Regions from separate parts of the Homo sapiens genome. Here regions 1, 3, 4, 5 and 6 are each linked to region 2. The links are contacts of gene promoters, found by promoter capture Hi-C in blood cells and fetal thymus (Javierre and others, 2016). All regions are on one chromosome and are shown on one strand. Each heading gives the region's core, a stretch centred on a gene start or on the middle of the fragment in contact. The rest is flanking DNA. Distances are from core to core; before and after follow the strand shown.

Region 1 (3,018 bases), core at 144-2,643, 370 kb after region 2:
CCGAGTTTTGGTAACAGGGTAATATTGGCTCCATAGAATGAGTTTGGAAGAATTCCCTCCTCCTCTATTTTCCAGAACAGTTTTGGCAGGATTGGTATTAATTCTTCTTTAAATGTTGGGAAAAATTCAGCAGTGAAGGCATCAGGTCTTGGGTTTTTCTTTGCTGGGAGACGTTTTATTATAGCTTCAATCTCATTACTTGTTATTGGTCTGTTTAGGTTTTGGATTTCTTCATGGTTCAGTCTTGGAAGGTAATATGTGTCTGAGAATTTATTAATTTCCTCTAGGTTTTCCAACTTATTAGCATATAGTTTCTCATAGTAGCCACTAATGATCGTTTGAATTTCTGTGGTATTGGTTGTAATATCTCCTTTTTCATCTCTGATTTTATGTATTTGGGTCTTCTGTCTTTTTTTCTTAGTTAGTTTGGCTAAAGGTTTGTCAATTTTGTTTATCTTTTCAAAAAACAACCTTTTGGTAAGATTTGGTATTTTTCTTCATTTTTATTTCATGTATTTCTGCTCTGATCATTATTATTTATTTTATTCTACTAAGTTTGGGCTTATTTTGCTCTTGCTTTTCTAGTTCTTTAAGATGCATTGTTATGTTGTTTATTTGAAGTTTTTCTACTTTTTTAAAGTAGGCAGTTATTGCTATAGACTTTCCTGTTAGTACTGCTTTCACTGTATCCCACAGATTTTGTAATGCTTTGTTTCCATTAATGTTTGTTTCAATAAATTTTTCAATCTCCTTCTTAATTCCTTCGTTGATCCACTGGTCATTCAAGAGCCTATTGTTTAATTTCCATAAGTTTTTATAGTTTCCAAAGTTTCTGTTGTTATTAATTTCTACATTTATTTTATTCTTGTCAGAGAAGATACTTAATATGATTTTAATTTTTTGAATGTTTTAAGACTTGTTTCCCCATGTGTTGGGGAAAAGAAAGTGTATTCTGCAGCTTGTGAATGAAATGTTCTGTAAATATCTATTAGGTCCATTTGTCTAGAGTGCAGAGTAAGCCTGATATTTCTTTGTTGGTTTTCAGTCTGGATGATCTGTCCAATGCTGAAAGTGAGGTTTTGGAGTCTCCAGCTATTACTGTATTGGGGTTTATCTCTCTCTTTAGCTCTAATAATATTTGCTTTATATATCTGGGTGCTCCAGTGTTTGGTGCACATACATTTACAATTGTTATATTCTCTTTCTGAATTGATTCCTTTATCATTATATAATGACCTTCTTTGTCTCTATATAGTTTTTATTTTTTGTTTTGAAATCATTTTGTCCAATATAAGTATAGCTACTTTTGCTCTTTTTGGTTTCCATTTGCATGGAATATCTTTTTCCTTCCCTTTCTTTTTAATCTGTGTCTGTCTTTATAGTTGAAATGTCTTTCTTGTAAGCAACCAATAGTTGGGTCTTCCTTTTTTAAATCTATTCAGCTACTCTATGTCTTTCTTTGGAAAGTTTAGTCAATTTATATTCCGTGTTATTATTAATAAGTAAAGACTTACTCCTGCCATCTTGTTATTTGTTTTCTGTCTGTTTTGTTTCTTTTCTTTCTTCCTGAATTTCTTTCAGTGAAGGTGATTTTCTCTGGTGGTATGTTCCAATTTCTTGCTTTTTACATTTTGTGTATCTGTTGCATGCTTTTTGATTTGTGGTTACCATTAGGCTTGCAAATAATATTTTATATCTTGGTATTTTAAACTAATGGCAACATTGATTGTGTAAACAAACTAATAAGCAAAGAGACAAGTAAAAAAGCTCTAAAATTTAGCTTCATCACCCAGCTTTTTAACTTTTTGTTGTTTCTACTTATGTTTTGTTATATTATGTCTGTCTATGTCTTGAAAAGTTGTAGTTATTATTTCCGATCAGTTCAATTTAGTGTTTCTACTAAAGATATGAATTGTTTGTACTTCACAATCATAATGTTTTAATATTAGTAATGTTTAGTAATTAGTAATATTACTTAGTGTTTTACTGTGTGTTTAATATTACCAGTGAGTTCTGTACTTTCAGATGAGTTCTTATTGCTCATTAATGCCCTTTCTTTCAGATTAAAGAACACTCGTTAGCATTTCTCATAGGACAGGTCTGGTGTTAATAAAATCCCTCAGCTTTTATTTGTCTGGGAGAGTCTTTATTTTTCCTTCAGATTTGAAGGATATTTTCATTGGATACACTATTCTAGGGCAAACGTTTTTGCCTCAACACTTTAAATATGGCATGCCAGTCTCTCCAGGCCTGTAAGATTTCAATGGAGAAGTCTACTGCCAGACATATTAGAGCTCCCTTGTGTGTTAATTTTTTTAATTTTCTCTTGATGCTTTTAGAATCATTTCTTTATCATTGACCTTTGTGAGTTTTATTATTAAATGTCTTGAAGTAGTCTTATTTGGATTAAATCTGCTTGGTGTTCTATAATCCTCTTGTACTTGAATATTGGTATCTTTCTCTAGGTTTGAGAAGTTCTTTGTTATTATCTCTTTGAATAAACTTTCTACTCTGATCTCTTGTTTAAGATCCTCTTTTAAGGCCAATACACTACAATTTGCCCTTTTAAGGCTATTTTCTAGATCATATAGGCATCCTTCATTATTTTCTCTTCTTTTTTCTTTTGTCTCTTCTGAGTCTGAATTTTCAAGTAGCCTGTCTTCAAACTGACCAATTCTGTCTTCTGCTTGATCGATTCTGCTATTAAAAGATTCTGATCCATTATTTACTATGTCAATTGCATTTTTCAGCTCCAGTATTTCTGCTTGATTCTTTTAAGTTATTTCTATCTCTTTGTTAAATTTATATGATAGAATGCTGAGTTCCTTCTCTGTGTTATATTTAATTTCATTGAGCTTCCTCAAATAACTATTTTGAATTCTCTTTCTGAAAGGTCACATATCTCTGCCTCTCCAGGATTAGTATCTGGTGAGTACCTTAATTCATTTGGTGAGGTCGTGTTTTCCTGGATGGTCTTGATGCCTGTGGATGTTCATTAGTGTCTGGATGTTCATAGAG
Region 2 (2,928 bases), core at 129-2,628:
GTGCAAAGACGATTGTTCAATTTATAATTCAAATGTTATTTGCCTGGGAAATATATTATCTAGAAATCGACTTAGTAATCAACAGTTTTTTAAAAACCTACAAAAGTAGAAATGCAAAATGTAGACACATTTAAAGCGAGCCAAGTACTATTATATTATTTTAACTTTAAAATGATGACTCCTGTGGCAAGTGATTGCCCAAGTTATAATGAGTTCAACAAGCTTGTTCTTGTGTGATTTCTAACACCACATTTATATTTGAATAGTGAAAGGGCTCCTTTCTGGTAAATCTAATTTGCTGAGTGGACATGATGCAAAAGATAACCTATCTTGACTTGAATATGTTTTTAGGGTTTTGAGGTTTCAAGTTTCAAGAAAATACAAGGAATTGAAATTCCAGACAGAAAGACTCAATGCCTCAGGAAGATATATTTATAAATCATTTATATTAATTTGGGGCAAGTGAAAATTTCTGTAGTTGTAAAATATAGTAGCTGTAATGACATATTTTGGCCTTTAAAGTGCCACTTTAATAATTACAACTAGATGAACTTGAGAAATAATTTGAATGTTGTATTAACTTAGAAACTTTCTATTCATTGGATGTATCCAAACTAAATGTCATCTTAATTTTCTCTTAATGGAGAATTTTAATATTATTATTATTGCTATTATCATTATGTTGGTACTTTACTGGTTCTCTGTAGCTTAATCATTGGGATGCAGATTTAAGCATTGTTGTTCCTGGAATATGGCAGCCCATTTCATTTACTCAGAAAAATGTTAAATAGCAGGATGACAGAAAGGTGAATATTATACTATTAAAAATAATTTTATTTACAGCACTTGTCATAGTAACACTAAGAAACAAACACTAAAATGGAATATGAAACCTCTGTGTTTTCACAAATTTAACTGTTCTCTGCAACTAAATTAACAAATTATCTTGATTTGAAATGGAACTTATAGTCTGTAATAAAAGGTGGTATAACCAACTATAGTTTCAGGTATATTTCTTTTAGAAACAGGTTATGCTGCTTCCTAATTTGCAGTTATGTTTGTTGAACTCCCGTATAGGTTTCTAGCATAGTTTGAGCTGGTATAGTTCTCTTCACACCAATGGGAGCCTTTCCTGAAATTACATTTTGTTCTTGTTGTTTTAAGTACTTTTACATACATGATTATGCCCACAGGTAACAGGAAACCAGTGTTTCAAAAGAAAACTTGATCACATTGCTAGATAATACAGGTATCCTAACCAAGTGCGTGAGCGCCCAGAGGCTTTCTGCTGCTGCCAGAAGTACATATTTTTTTGATTGGTAAGAACTGCCAGATGACGCTTCATGAAATATAAATGCAACAAAGACTCAGAGAGCTCAATAAAAACCTTCCACCCGTCAGTCTAGAAGGATAAGAGAAAGAAAGTTAAGCAACTACAGGAAATGGCTTTGGGAGTTCCAATATCAGTCTATCTTTTATTCAACGGTAGGTAATTTCCTTTTGTTTTGTTAACTTTATATCAGTGTAAAATGTGAATAGAATTTATTTTCTCTGCATTAGAGAGAAGTTGGCTTCTAACAGTTGTTCTTTATGACAAAGATCAGAGTAATGAATCTGTGGATTAATTTAGTTTCTTATGTCCTGTATGTTCCTTTCCTAATATATTTTGACACCTTTTTTGAGACCTCCAGAATGTTTGCTTTATACAATTGAAGAGTAATTGATACATTTAGCTACTATACTATAGGGTTCTTATTTTTTAATTAATATGTAAATGTATCAATGGTCTTAAATATTGGGTTTTTATTTGCTTTAATCCTAATATAGTCAATGGAATGGATGAGAAACTGTAAGTATGTTGCCCTAGTCACGTTATGGATTTCAACTGTAATAAATTAAAAAAATAGAAATTGGAATAAACAGAATAAGAATACTTTCCATCTGTTGCTTGTACATAGAAGGAGGCTCTCTGTTAAAGATGCTTTTGCCCCCTTAATACAGCAATGACAGCACTGACCGAAGAGGCAGCCGTGACTGTAACACCTCCAATCACAGCCCAGCAAGGTAACTGGACAGTTAACAAAACAGAAGGTATTTTCTTCCCATTTTCATATTTCACAAGACTTTTCTAAAACTTGGGAGAGAAATTTGGATTGTGATAAAAGCAATATTGGCCATTTTTAATATATATTTTATTATTAGATAATCAGCTCTTTTAGCAGGATGCTGTTAAATTGAAGTGACAGATAAATGTGCCAGGAAATAATTGCCTTTTTAAAAGGAGGAAGTTAAGCAAATGAGACAAAAGCTGTCTTCAGTTACTGTCTTGAATGTGAAACAGGCCACATTTTCTGCTTCATTTCTGCTTGGTTCCCAATAACCCCTGTGTGTACAGAGACAGTTTGTCCCCATTTTGGCATTCTTGATGAGCAGCATTATATTTTGATCTGTGATTATAAGCTTTGATGCCAAAGACATTATGGCTACAAGATGAACAGCACTTTCCCTCATCTTTGGAATGACCTTTTTTTCTTGTTTGCTTTGGAGTTTTTGTTGTTATTTTAGCATATGCTGTATTTCCTAACCACTTGTACCCAATTTTTGTTGTTGATGGTAATGATATATTTTCTTTTGCACTTAATTATTATCACAGTGGCTTCTGGATGCTCTTGAGCATCAGCGTTCTTTCTCTAATCTGTTTAAACTCTTAGAGGTGAAACTTGGAAAGCTTGTTGCTTACCAAGACCTGTGACTGAGTGGTTATGATTCTTCTGCAAATCGCATCCTGATTGCTATGTGAAGGCTGGCAATTTGATTTAGGACAGAGGAAACAATGTCTTGCACTCAGAGTCAGGCAAATAAAGGAAGATTGTCATATCTCAGTGTTCTTCATGTCACCAATAATTTAAAATTTTAAATGATTGTCTC
Region 3 (2,700 bases), core at 107-2,606, 350 kb after region 2:
AGGTGAATTTCCTGCATGTCACAGGTTGTAAGTGAGCTTGCACAAACCACTGTATAAACCATTACCCCCACAACTGAAGTTAATTCCCTAATTGTCTCCTCCTCCAAGTTCTGGGGAGTGAATCAGCCATTTGGCATTCTTCCCTACTTCTGACTGACTCAGAAGTACTTCCGTCACAACTGCCACACATTTTTGAAAAAGAAGGAGTGGAGTTGTTATATGAGTCATAAGAGAATGAGAAACAGGAGTGAGGTGAAAGGTGAGGTCAATATCCCAAATGCATTTCAAAAGAGGTAGTCAAAGGATAAAAAAGATGTTTTACACTAGAAACTTTTGAAGATATTAGTAACTAAACAGACTTTTGATGACTACTCTTTACTTTTGAAAGGTCATCTTTCTTAACCTTCAAAAAACACACAGATACCCACATACAAAGAGAGACAGAAAAATAAAGAGAGAGAGATCTGATTCTCTTCTCAAACACCTTATTGAAAATACACTTTTCCTATGATTTTCTTCATCCTTATTCTATCATATGGCTAAATTTAACGTTCCAAATCATTGGTTATAGATAAACTAAATGAAATCAGGCTTTTCAACTCCATGGTTGGCCATTGAACAATGTATGGTCTTAGAATAATTAAACTCCAAGAGCACAGTTTGGTTATTGATAAGAAAAAGATTTTTTTTTTTAAAGTTTAACCGGAACCTAATTTTCAGCAGAGCACAGGCAAATTGATTTCTTTTTTATTTACAGGTAATTTAGGATTTTCAAAATAATGTGATAAAAGATGGGCCCCAGGGTAAAACCCAGTAGATCGGATAACAGTATAAAAATCACTGACCATACTCAGCAAAAAACATTAGTTCAGCACTGGCCAAAGCCACAGGTGAGAGATTTAGCCAGTAAGTCTCCACAATATTTTGGAAGATATTTATGAGCCTCTTGGGACCCATGTCAAATAAAACCTTGTTTACAAATCTGTAATAATGTTAGTTAACTTTTTAACTCCCAAGAAAAGTTTCAAAAAGTGCTGCCTTACCTTTATTATATTTGAAGTAGATATATCCAATTTTCTACGATTCAAGGCCTGATTGGATACTAAATTTATGGAGGAATAGACAGACTATTCCCAGGGGATTTTTTTCTCTACTGTTTGTAGCATGGGATCTTATGAAGAGCAATTGAGCACTGTGGTCAGTAGCACCAGCTCTTATAGCAGCTTGCTTGGAATGGAATCCTACTTGGAATGGAATCCTACTTTGCCTTCTCCTTACTCCATTCCATTAGACGGTTTTCCACTTCTCTGTGCCTTACTTTCCCTATCCTTAAAATAAAGATAGAGACAATACTTATTTGATAGTGTTGTTATGGAGATTAAATATAAAGTACTCAGAACAGTGTCAGACATATTAAAAACTCTTTGAAAATGTACACTACAAAAACCATGGGTTTTTGACCTTTTCCAGGTTATGCAGATGCAGAGCTGAGACTTGAACCCACACCTCTGAAACCCCTGACCTACAGGCTCAGACGTGCTCACTACCATTACCCCAGAGCTAGGTGCTGTGTGAATAATTGTCATGCTGAGTAATTAATGAAAATTAATTTAGTACCTCTGCCAAATTGGAAAGTTTTACTTGAAACTTGAAATGAGCTTTCTCTTTACTTTTTTTTTTTTTTAATATAAGGGTTTATGGAGTAAGTGAAATCTTATGAGATACTTAAACTTGTAAAATAGAAAAAGCTGCAAATGAGTAAATGCCTGGAGTACTGACTTTAATACCATGACTAATAGATGATTGTTCTTTCAGGACCCATTTTGCCTACAGGCTTCTAAGCCTTTAAAGGGCTGCTCTGGAGGCCATGGTTCTACTGGTAACATAATCATATTTTCTGTCTCAGTAAATTGACAGAGCTACAAAGCAACAGAACAATGTCATTAACTACTGTTACAGCCTCTGGGTCTCAGCAAATATTTGCTGACTTGTGACAATTGGAGACCTCATTCATTTACTCAGAGTCATCACCATCTTTTCAGGTTGCCACAGTCTCTTTCCTCAAAGTCATCTTTGACCCAAAAAGTGGAAGTTGGCTATGACACAAATTGCTAGCAAAACAAGATGGAATTTTCAACTGTTACAGGATAAGACAAGTAAGAGATAGATGTGATGAAATGCAAGTCCTGGAAGCGAAGGAATGGTGTAAAATGTCACTTACTGCAAGATTCCTTCTTTGTTTGACTCACTCAGTTGAAATGGAGGCCATTACATTTCACATTCTGGTGGCCTAGGGGCACAGCCCATCATGAAATCTTGCAGGAAACTCTCTGTTCAAGTGACCCGTGAGTGCCACTTTGGGGTCTAGAATGTGACTCATTCTTCCATACATAGTTTTTGTGTAAAGAAAATAAATTAATATATAACAAACATGTTTAATTTCCACTGACCCCACCCTATCCTAACTTCCCAGAAATTTTAGCCTAACCTTGAGTTCTCATATGAATTGACTCTCCAGGTGCAATGACTATTATGACAAAATCTGAGTAAGAGTTTGTACCACTGTCCCTCCACCCTAAAGGGATTTACTTACATAGAAAGTCTAAAAACTGATTACTCCATTTGTTCCAGGAGACAACCTCCCACTAGACAAATGATGACTTGATTTGAAAAGCACTTTTAAAAAGAAGTCTGCCCTTC
Region 4 (2,997 bases), core at 490-2,989, 330 kb after region 2:
ATGCATGTTCTTTCTCTTCTGACTAGACCTCAAAACCAAGGTAAAAAATTGGCAGTAAAATCCATTTGTTGTTATACAGGCTTGAAAATGATGACCATATTGCTGTCTACTTGACCTGTAACTAAATAGAGAAAAGTCAAAATTCAAGAGCTGAGGAATAGAAAGAAGTTGGCTTACGTGTTTTTAAAGATAAGCTTCATGTGACAATAATATTTGTTATTTTGTCTGGAATAACTTTTTCCTTTTTTTAATAAGCATTTTTTTTCTGAAAATGTATATGCTGTATCAATGATATATTATGGATGACATTTATTTTAACAGATGTTTTTAACCATATTTCAAATACATTACATTCACAAGGCTTTGCCTCTTTTTCAGTGAAAGAAAATAATGAGCAGATGCTAGATTTCTTAAGGTTCAACAGTTTATGGCTCCAAAAATAAAAGTTAAATATATTTAAAAGTAAATTCAATAAGCAAGTGATTAACCATAACCTGATAATTACATATTTAATTTTTTTACAATAAACCCCTTAATGTGATACAAGGTGAATCTTCTAAACTTGGCATCAATGAAACACTTTTCTTAGGGGAAAGGAAAATTGGATTGCATGGCTCTGACTCAAACCAGAATCCATCTGTTCCAGGATTCTGACCTTAATTTCTCCCACCACCCCACTGACTGCAGGAGCTATGCATCCCGTTTCATCATCTAGCATAGGCATGGATATTTGCCTTTCACTAAATAAGTCATAGCAGAGCTAAGAAACAACTTCAAGGTCTAGATAACTTAATCAAAGCATGGGAAGCTTCAATTGTAAATAAGTTAAAAATAATTTAAATGGCAAAATCATGAAGAAAAATTTATGTAGTATAAAACATTACCTAAGCTATATACAGTGAAAATTTTAAAGCATTCCATTCTTCTATTAATATATGAAAAAGAATAAGGATAAAAACTAATTATGCCAAAAAAACTAATAAAACAATCACCAAACTTTTGCTTCTATAAATGTGATGGTAAGCCAGTTTCAAGGACCCTCTTGATAAAATATCAGTCACTAAAACACAAATTCCAACAAATTTTAATGCATTGTAGGTCTAACTAGAAAGTGAAGAAAACTCCAAAAATCACATCAAATAAAAAACTAAAACAAATAAACAAAATACATAGGGAAAGAAGTCTACTAAAACCATAGGAGAAAGCTCTAAATAGCAGGCAAATTAGGGAAATATAGACAATAAAACTTGGTTTTCCCAGTGAATGATAGTCCATGAGGTTGAGTGTCTGTGATATGAACATTTGAAATCTGAAATGCTCCAAAATGTAATACATTTTGAGCACCCACATGATGTCGCAATTAGAAAATCCCACACGTGACCTCATATGCTGGGTTGCAGTCAAACTGCAGTCACACAACACAGTTCATTCAGCAACCCCAAGGGGAAAAAGACCCTCCCAGCACCCTTCAGCTACAATGTATCTTTTTCATGAGGCCCAGATTCCCCCACCCAAGCACACCCATAAAAGGTAATCAAATGGCAACTGTACGTGCCAGACACACCAACAGCAAGTTCCTCATGGTGCCTCACATGGAGCCAAGACCTACAAGCATTACTCACTCTGTTTTTTTGCTTATTGTCTGCTCTGTGGCATATAGATATGGTTGAAAATGTCAAAAAGGGCTGCATATATCCATATGGATAACTGTAATAAGAGGAATCATTTATGTTTATTTATAGCATAAAATGTTGAGTTGTGGGATAAACTGGACAGTGGAGTGTGAAACATCTTGTGGAAGAATACCATATATGACCTGAAGAAAAAGAAGAATAAACTTTCTAAGTTCTATGCTGAAAGTGATGAGGAGAAATTAATAACAAATAGAAAAACACTGCATAAAGCTAAAAATGAAGATCTCAATTGTGTATTGAAAGAGTCGATCTGGGGCCGGGCACAGTGGCTCACGCCTGTAATCCAGCACTTTGGGAGGCCAAGGCGGGGGGATCACATAAGGGCAGGAGTTTGAGCCTGGCCAACGTGATGAAACTCTGTCTCTACTAAAAATACAAAAATTAGCCAGGCATGGTGGCAGGTGCCTGTAATCCCAGCTACTTGGGAGGCTGCAGCAGGAGAATCACTTGAACCCAGGAGGTGGAGGTTGCAGTGAGCCGAGATCACACCATTGCAATGCAGTCTGGGTGACAAGAGTGAAACTCTGTCTCAAAAAAAAAAAAAAAAAGAGTGGATCTATCAGCATCATAGTGAACACATGCCACTTAATTATATGAAAACAAGCAAGCAAAGATCTATCACAATGGACTAAAATTTGAAGGGAACTATGAATATTCAGCAGACTGGTTGCAGAAATTTAAGAAACACATGACATTAAGTTTTAAAGATTTGTGATGATAAAGTGACTGCTGATCACCAAGCGGTGGGGAAATTAATTAGCAAATTTGCCAAGGTCATAGCTGATGAAAATCTGACAACAGCACAAGTCTATAATGCTTATGAAACACCACTGTCTTGGCATTATTGCCCCAGAAAGACACTGACTATGGCTGATGAGACAGCCCCTACAGGAATTAAGGGTGCCTAGGACAGAATACCTGTGCTGGGATTTGCTAATACAGCAGACATGCTTAAGTTAAACTGTTGTGATAAGCAAAAGCTTGCATCTTCACTGTTTTCAAGGAGTAAATCTCTTACTAGCCCACTACTATGCTAACAAAAAGTGATGGATCACCAGAGACATGTTTTTGGATTGGCTTCATAGACATTTGTACTAGTGACTCATGCTCACTGCCAGGAAACTGAACTAGATTGTAACTACAAGATTTTGTTATTCCTTGACAGCTGTTCTGCTCATTCTTCAGCTGAAATTATCATAACAAAATAATGTTTAAGCCATGTACTTTTCTCCAAATGTGACCTCATTAAATTCAACCATGTGATCAGGGTATCCCTAAATCAATGAAAAGTAAATATAAAAAC
Region 5 (2,951 bases), core at 146-2,645, 390 kb after region 2:
TTCAACAATATAAAAATGCATTTAAATCAATGATTAAGCAAAAAACCTCACTAAATTCTATTCATCACCTTCTCCACACTTGTTTCAGATCACTAGAAATATCAGTTCTGCAAGCTCACACAACTGCGAACCAATTTATTAATGGACACGCTAAGCTACATTGCTGTGGAAAGGCATTGTCTTAGCATAGTTTTTTTCCAACGAGTACCCTGACAGCATCTCTATTTCTACTTAGAGGCTGAAAACACTTTGCCATTAAATAACTATTTTCAACAGTGAGAATTTTGTATACTAAAAAATATATAAAGATATCTCCTCCATAATCCATTACACTCTCCAAGGTATTTTCACATACCTTACATCACTGGATTCTCATCAGATTGGGAGGCAACTTGAGGGAGCTGAAAGAGAAGGAGTCCTAGACTAGGAAGGACTTGGCCTGTGATTCCAGCTGCACACATCCTGTGTGCCTTGGGAACATTGCCTAAATTCTCTGGGCCTCTCCTTCAATAGCTGCATCTCCTAAGTAATAAATGTGCCATTTACAATAATCACACTTTTCATTGTGAAGATATAGTAAAGTAAAAGTCACCAGGATGAAGTATAAATCACAATCAAGGATCACTTGTTTATCCAACCAACAATTATCCTGTACTTGTTCAGTGCCAAGCACTGTTCTAGGCACAGGAGACATAGCTATGCCCTACAGATATGGTTCCTGCCATCAAGTTCACAGTCTAATGGAAGCAGAGACAGACAGGACAATCAAATGATGATATCACCAAGTGACTGGGGTAAGGTAAAGAGTGACTTTAAGAAAGATAGTCACAGTGAGCTTCTTTAAGAAGAGCTGACACTTCAGTAACAGGAGGCAGCCGTGCTAAGACCTGCACGAGCAGCTCCCCCAGAGTGACCCATCAGAGGGGAAAGATGCCTTCAGAGGGAAAGGTTGCTTTGTGGAAATGCAGCTTTCTGTCAGTGTCCTGTGATCCCAGGCTGCAGAGTCTGTGAACACAGCATTATCCCTTCAGCTGCTGGTTGTTTGGGTACATTCATGGAGAAATCATATCAGGGTGAATAAGAGTACCCCAATTATTCTAACCTCAAACTCAAAGAGATTCAGCTAAAGAATAACCCTAGACTTTTAAGGAATTTTTTTTAAAGATAATGTGTGTATGTGTGTGTGTATGTGTGTAATATTATTCAAATTTTTATATGATTACATTTCATACGAATATTATTTCTGAAATCAGTTATTTTCTATTCTCCTAACTCAACAATTACACTCCCATTTACATACTATATTAGGGCAATTATCCTCAAGTATAATTAAGAAGCTAAAAAATGAGCACAGAAAGTCTTTGTGACCACATACAGGCAGACTGCCTTATAATTGAATTGCATGAATCAGGTAAAAAGCAAAGAAAGAAGAGAAAAGTTATTCCAACTCTAAAACCTCCGACTATCCGACAGTCATGGATTGTCCCCAAACACGGACTGTTAGTTTTATTGTCATTTACTTTGTACATTCACATCAGTAAAGTTTAGTCATTTGATTCATGCTTCAAAATTTTTTAATTGCAAAGTTTTCATGACTTAAAAATGGAAAACTCCTGAATTAGAAAGACTGTTCACATTTATGTGTCTGTCTATTTGTGCTAAAAATTATTTCTCCAGTCTACATTTACATTCCAATCTAGGATTGCTCTTAGAGAATTCTGAAATGCTTTCTATATTTGGTAGAACTGCATCAGAAACAAAAATATGCACATTTATTTCTTGAAGGATCATACCATGTTTAACATGTAATTCCAGCTCCCCTTTGCCTTTACATTTTTCTTTCATGGGGAAAAAAAATGCTTTCAAGGTATGGATGGCACAGGCCATTTGGCCTCAGACCAAAAATCACCTGAGGATCTGTGACTTCCTGGAATAGCTGGGTGTCAGTCATAGAGGTCCTGGTTCAGAGGCTGAGGCACACAAAGCCTCCTTATGTCAGGAGGGTGCTAGAGTCAAAATTCTCATCCTCTCCTTTCCCATCTAATCTCTATTCTTAAGAAGCACTTAAGGCACACAAAGTAAGTGTTGGGTGAATATTCCAGAATTAGCAAAGTGTGCTGAGACTTCTAATCATTTCACAACAGCGTTCTCTCCTTCTTTCTTTATATCTCTGAGTATTAGTTGAGTGAATGGCTGCTCTTCTACAGTCCACTTCTCCCAGCTAAGTGAGTTTGTGTGGTTGAGTGTTGGCCAAGAGTGTGTGAGCAGAAGCTATTCCCCAAAGGAAACTGCAACCCCTACACTGCTCTTTTCCTCACTCCTTGGACTGAACAACATTGACCACCCCAAGATGAAGGCAAATCCCTAGGGAGTAATAAAGCCATGGGATTAAAGGATCCTGGTTCTTTGAATGACATCATGAAACAAAGCCACCTACTTTTCAGCTGTTACATGACAGAAAAATATTACTAAACTTCTATTTTGTTTAAACAACGGTGCTTTCAGTTTGTTGATGACAGAAGTTCAATTAGTATCCAAACTAGCACCCACAGCAATTAATTCAACATGTATTTGATTATCTCCTTTCTTTGTGCTAGGTACTGTGCTACTTTCAGTGGGAAATTAAAAAAAAATCAGAAGATATATTTCTTGCCCTTACAGAGGTTAAAAACTAGTAGAAAATTATATGCACAGAAGTAACTACAAAGCAAGGGAGGATGCAAGAATGCATCAGAGAAGGAAGACAGCATAAAATTCTGTCAATCTGTTAAACTTGTAACCAACATCTTTTCTTGAATGCCAAATATGTGGAATGACAAGCCAGCCTGCATGAAAATGATAAGGGTGGTGAAGCTTATTTGCACCCATCTTTTTTGCCTGTTTCATATTTCTTCCTCCTTTCCCAGGCACCCAGAGCCTTCTGTCTTCTATAAACCTCCCTTGCAGTGTCC
Region 6 (2,706 bases), core at 189-2,688, 310 kb after region 2:
AAAAGGAAAATCATTGAGTATTATATATGTATATGTGTTTTCTGCTATCTTCGAACCCTCATCCCTTTCTAGGACTCGAGTCACGTGTATGTTAGACTTTTTAAATTGTCATATGCTCCTGAGCCTCTGTACATTTCTTAGCAATCTTTTTTTCTCTCTGGCCTTCAGATTAGATCATTTTTAATAGATCTTTCTTCAAGTTCAGCACGCCTTTCTTCTGCCATTTCCAATCTGCTGATAAGTCCATCTAGTGATTTCTTCCATTTTAGATATTCTGTTTTTCAGTTTCAGAATTTCATTTTTATTCTTTTAAAATACTTTCTATTTCTTTACTGAGATGTCCTATATTTTCATTTATTATGAGAATATTCTTTACATTTTAAATATGTTTATAATAGCCACTTTAAAAATTTTGCCTGCTGATTCTAACATTCTGGTCATCTTGGGATTGGTTTCTACTGACTACCTTTCTCTTAAATCTGAGACGTATTTTCTTGTTTTTTTTTTTCTTGTTTATTTTTATTTTTATTTTAGATGGGGTCTCGCTCTGTCACCCAGGCTGGAGTGCAGTGGTGCGATCTCGGCTCACTGCAACCTCTGCCTCCCAGGTTCAAACAATTCTCTGCCTCAGCCTCCCGAGTAGCTGGGATTACAAGCACCTGGCATCACGCCCAGCTAATTTTTGTATTTTTAGTAGAGACAGGGTTTCACCATCTGGGCCAGGCAGGTCTTGAACTCCTGACCTTGTGATCCACCTGCCTCAGACTCCCAAAGTGCTGGGATTAAAGGGGTGAGCCACTGCACCAGGCCTTTCTTGTTTCTTTGTATAGCCCATAATTTTATGTGGTATCCTGGTCATTAAAAAATGATACATTAAAGAGACTCTGAATTCTCTTATTTTCCCTTAGAGAATATCAATATGTTGTTGTAACAGATAGTTAACTTGGCTGAACTCAAGCTCCAAATTCTAATATCGAATTTAGTTCTTTTAGCTTTAGGTGCACTGCCTGGAATCTGCTCTACACAGGCATTCTTCAGTGTCACCCAGAAATGTAAGCAGGCTTTCTGTAGAGAATTTGTAGCTCCCTTTATGTGACTCTCCTTTCTGGGATTACCCCCACTCACTTTACAATTGCCAAGGTCCCCCCAAATCTGTCCTGAAGTTAATTAAGCCTATGAGGTTATACAGCTACTGTCTAGGTTTTAGTGGCCCTTGTTTGTTACAGATTGGGATCTGCTCTCAGATTAAAAGCTCCAAAGACAGGAAACTCACTCAGTGCCCTTCCCTTCTTTCAAGTGTCAGCCTCCTGTCCCAAGTGTCTGCCTGCGATTATTTCTTTCCCATTATGTTCAGGAAATTGCTTATTATATTTATACTTGTTATTTTCCTGAAAGTTGGTATTTGTGAGGCAGAACCTACCAGGCCAAGCATGTTGGAACTTTCTGTGACCTATCACTAGAATCTCACTTCTTCCCACCACTTGCACCCTTACCCAAAATGCCATCATCTTTCACTTGAATTATTATCATATTCCTAAGTGGTGCACAGTTTCTGTTCTTTTCCTCCTATAGGCTTTTTTTTTTTTTAATCACAGAAGTCAGAGTAACCCCATTTGAGTCATGTCAGCTCATAATCTTGCAATGTTTTCCTATCTCCCTGAGAGTGAGAGCCAACACCTATAACCTGGCCACAAAGCTCCACACAATCTGGTTCCCAGTAGTAGCTGTGATCTCTTCTCCTGCCACTGCCCCCATGCTCAGTTCACTCCAGGCAGTCACAATGACCACATCATTCTTCCTCAAACACCCCGACTCACTGCCCCCTTGGAGACTGTGTGCTTGTTCTTCCTGGCTCATGAAATATTTGTTCCCAAGATATTTGCTTGACTCACATCTCCTTCAAATATTTGACTCACATAACTTTCCCATTGAATTCTCTGATCATCCTATTTTAATCCTATCTCTTTAGTTTCATACTCCCCACTCTCTTTGCCTAATTTTCATCATCATCATATGTCCTATTTATTTGTTGATATTTTGTCTCTGCCAGTACAATATAAGTTTCATGAGAACATATATCTTTGTCTGTTGATTCATTAAGGCATGCCAAATGCCTAAAACAGTTTTAGGTGTAGAGAAGGCATTTGTAGACTGTTTTGAACATATTAGGTAAGTGGAAGGGCTGAATCTTAATTACCCTGGCATGGGCTTCAGCATCTAGAAAAATTCCTAGCACATAATTTTCAATTTAAAAATATCCTTGAATTTGTAAGTGAATAAATCAATAAATGGGTAGCCCAATAATCCTTTCTGGGCCACAAATTCTTCATTTTTTCTAGGTATCTTGTATTTATGCATAATATTAAAACTTTCCTTCTAGATAACCTTAATGCACTCGTTTAAAGAATAATTTCCTTATTACAGTTGCAATTATCTGAAAAAAGCCTATGTACAAGTGAGTAAATAGGCAGCTGCCTTATCATAGTAATAGATTGTGAACTTCATACATTCTGCCATTAACCAATATCCTTTCAGTCTCAATAATTTGTTGATGATCTTAAGTGTGCCTTATTTTGAGTGAAATTTAATAGATATTAAATTGACTAAAATTCTAGAAGACTCTACTTAAGTGATGTGTTAACAACCATTGTTCAATAAAAGCAAGGGTCTCTACTTATGTGTGGTGAAAGGAACCTGAATTTGGGG

What was found. Contacts are between HindIII fragments. The CHiCAGO score rates a contact against its expected background, and 5 or more counts as called.
Region 1: a fragment that was not itself captured here is called in contact with the fragment with the promoter of EPGN in region 2 in 8 of 17 cell types (monocytes, M2 macrophages, M0 macrophages and 5 more); the score reaches 12.0 in monocytes.
Region 3: a fragment that was not itself captured here is called in contact with the fragment with the promoter of EPGN in region 2 in 7 of 17 cell types (monocytes, total CD4 T cells, M0 macrophages and 4 more); the score reaches 10.3 in monocytes.
Region 4: a fragment that was not itself captured here is called in contact with the fragment with the promoter of EPGN in region 2 in 5 of 17 cell types (monocytes, naive CD4 T cells, non-activated CD4 T cells and 2 more); the score reaches 7.1 in monocytes.
Region 5: a fragment that was not itself captured here is called in contact with the fragment with the promoter of EPGN in region 2 in 1 of 17 cell types (M2 macrophages); the score reaches 5.8 in M2 macrophages.
Region 6: a fragment that was not itself captured here is called in contact with the fragment with the promoter of EPGN in region 2 in 3 of 17 cell types (erythroblasts, monocytes and megakaryocytes); the score reaches 7.9 in erythroblasts.

Annotation. Positions count from the first base shown.
Region 1 is chr4:74,679,386-74,682,403 of GRCh38, forward strand. No RefSeq gene overlaps it. Among named protein-coding and RNA genes, the nearest start is that of BTC, 110 kb to the right of the region's middle. The HindIII fragment of the contact is 8,908 bases long and covers 1-3,018 here.
Region 2 is chr4:74,307,092-74,310,019 of GRCh38, forward strand. It overlaps EPGN (epithelial mitogen), which reads left to right and starts at 1,379. Exons shown (of 5, transcript NM_001270989.2): 1 at 1,379-1,485; 2 at 2,002-2,091. The coding sequence starts at 1,443. The region is part of intron 2 of LOC105377276 (a long non-coding RNA gene); the gene reads right to left. The HindIII fragment of the contact is 2,238 bases long and covers 221-2,458 here.
Region 3 is chr4:74,659,806-74,662,505 of GRCh38, forward strand. No RefSeq gene overlaps it. Among named protein-coding and RNA genes, the nearest start is that of BTC, 130 kb to the right of the region's middle. RefSeq lists enhancers at 1-770, 1-152. The HindIII fragment of the contact is 5,885 bases long and covers 1-2,700 here.
Region 4 is chr4:74,637,525-74,640,521 of GRCh38, forward strand. No RefSeq gene overlaps it. Among named protein-coding and RNA genes, the nearest start is that of BTC, 160 kb to the right of the region's middle. The HindIII fragment of the contact is 1,866 bases long and covers 807-2,672 here.
Region 5 is chr4:74,701,342-74,704,292 of GRCh38, forward strand. No RefSeq gene overlaps it. Among named protein-coding and RNA genes, the nearest start is that of BTC, 92 kb to the right of the region's middle. The HindIII fragment of the contact is 2,911 bases long and covers 1-2,851 here.
Region 6 is chr4:74,617,036-74,619,741 of GRCh38, forward strand. No RefSeq gene overlaps it. Among named protein-coding and RNA genes, the nearest start is that of AREG, 170 kb to the left of the region's middle. The HindIII fragment of the contact is 3,702 bases long and covers 1-2,706 here.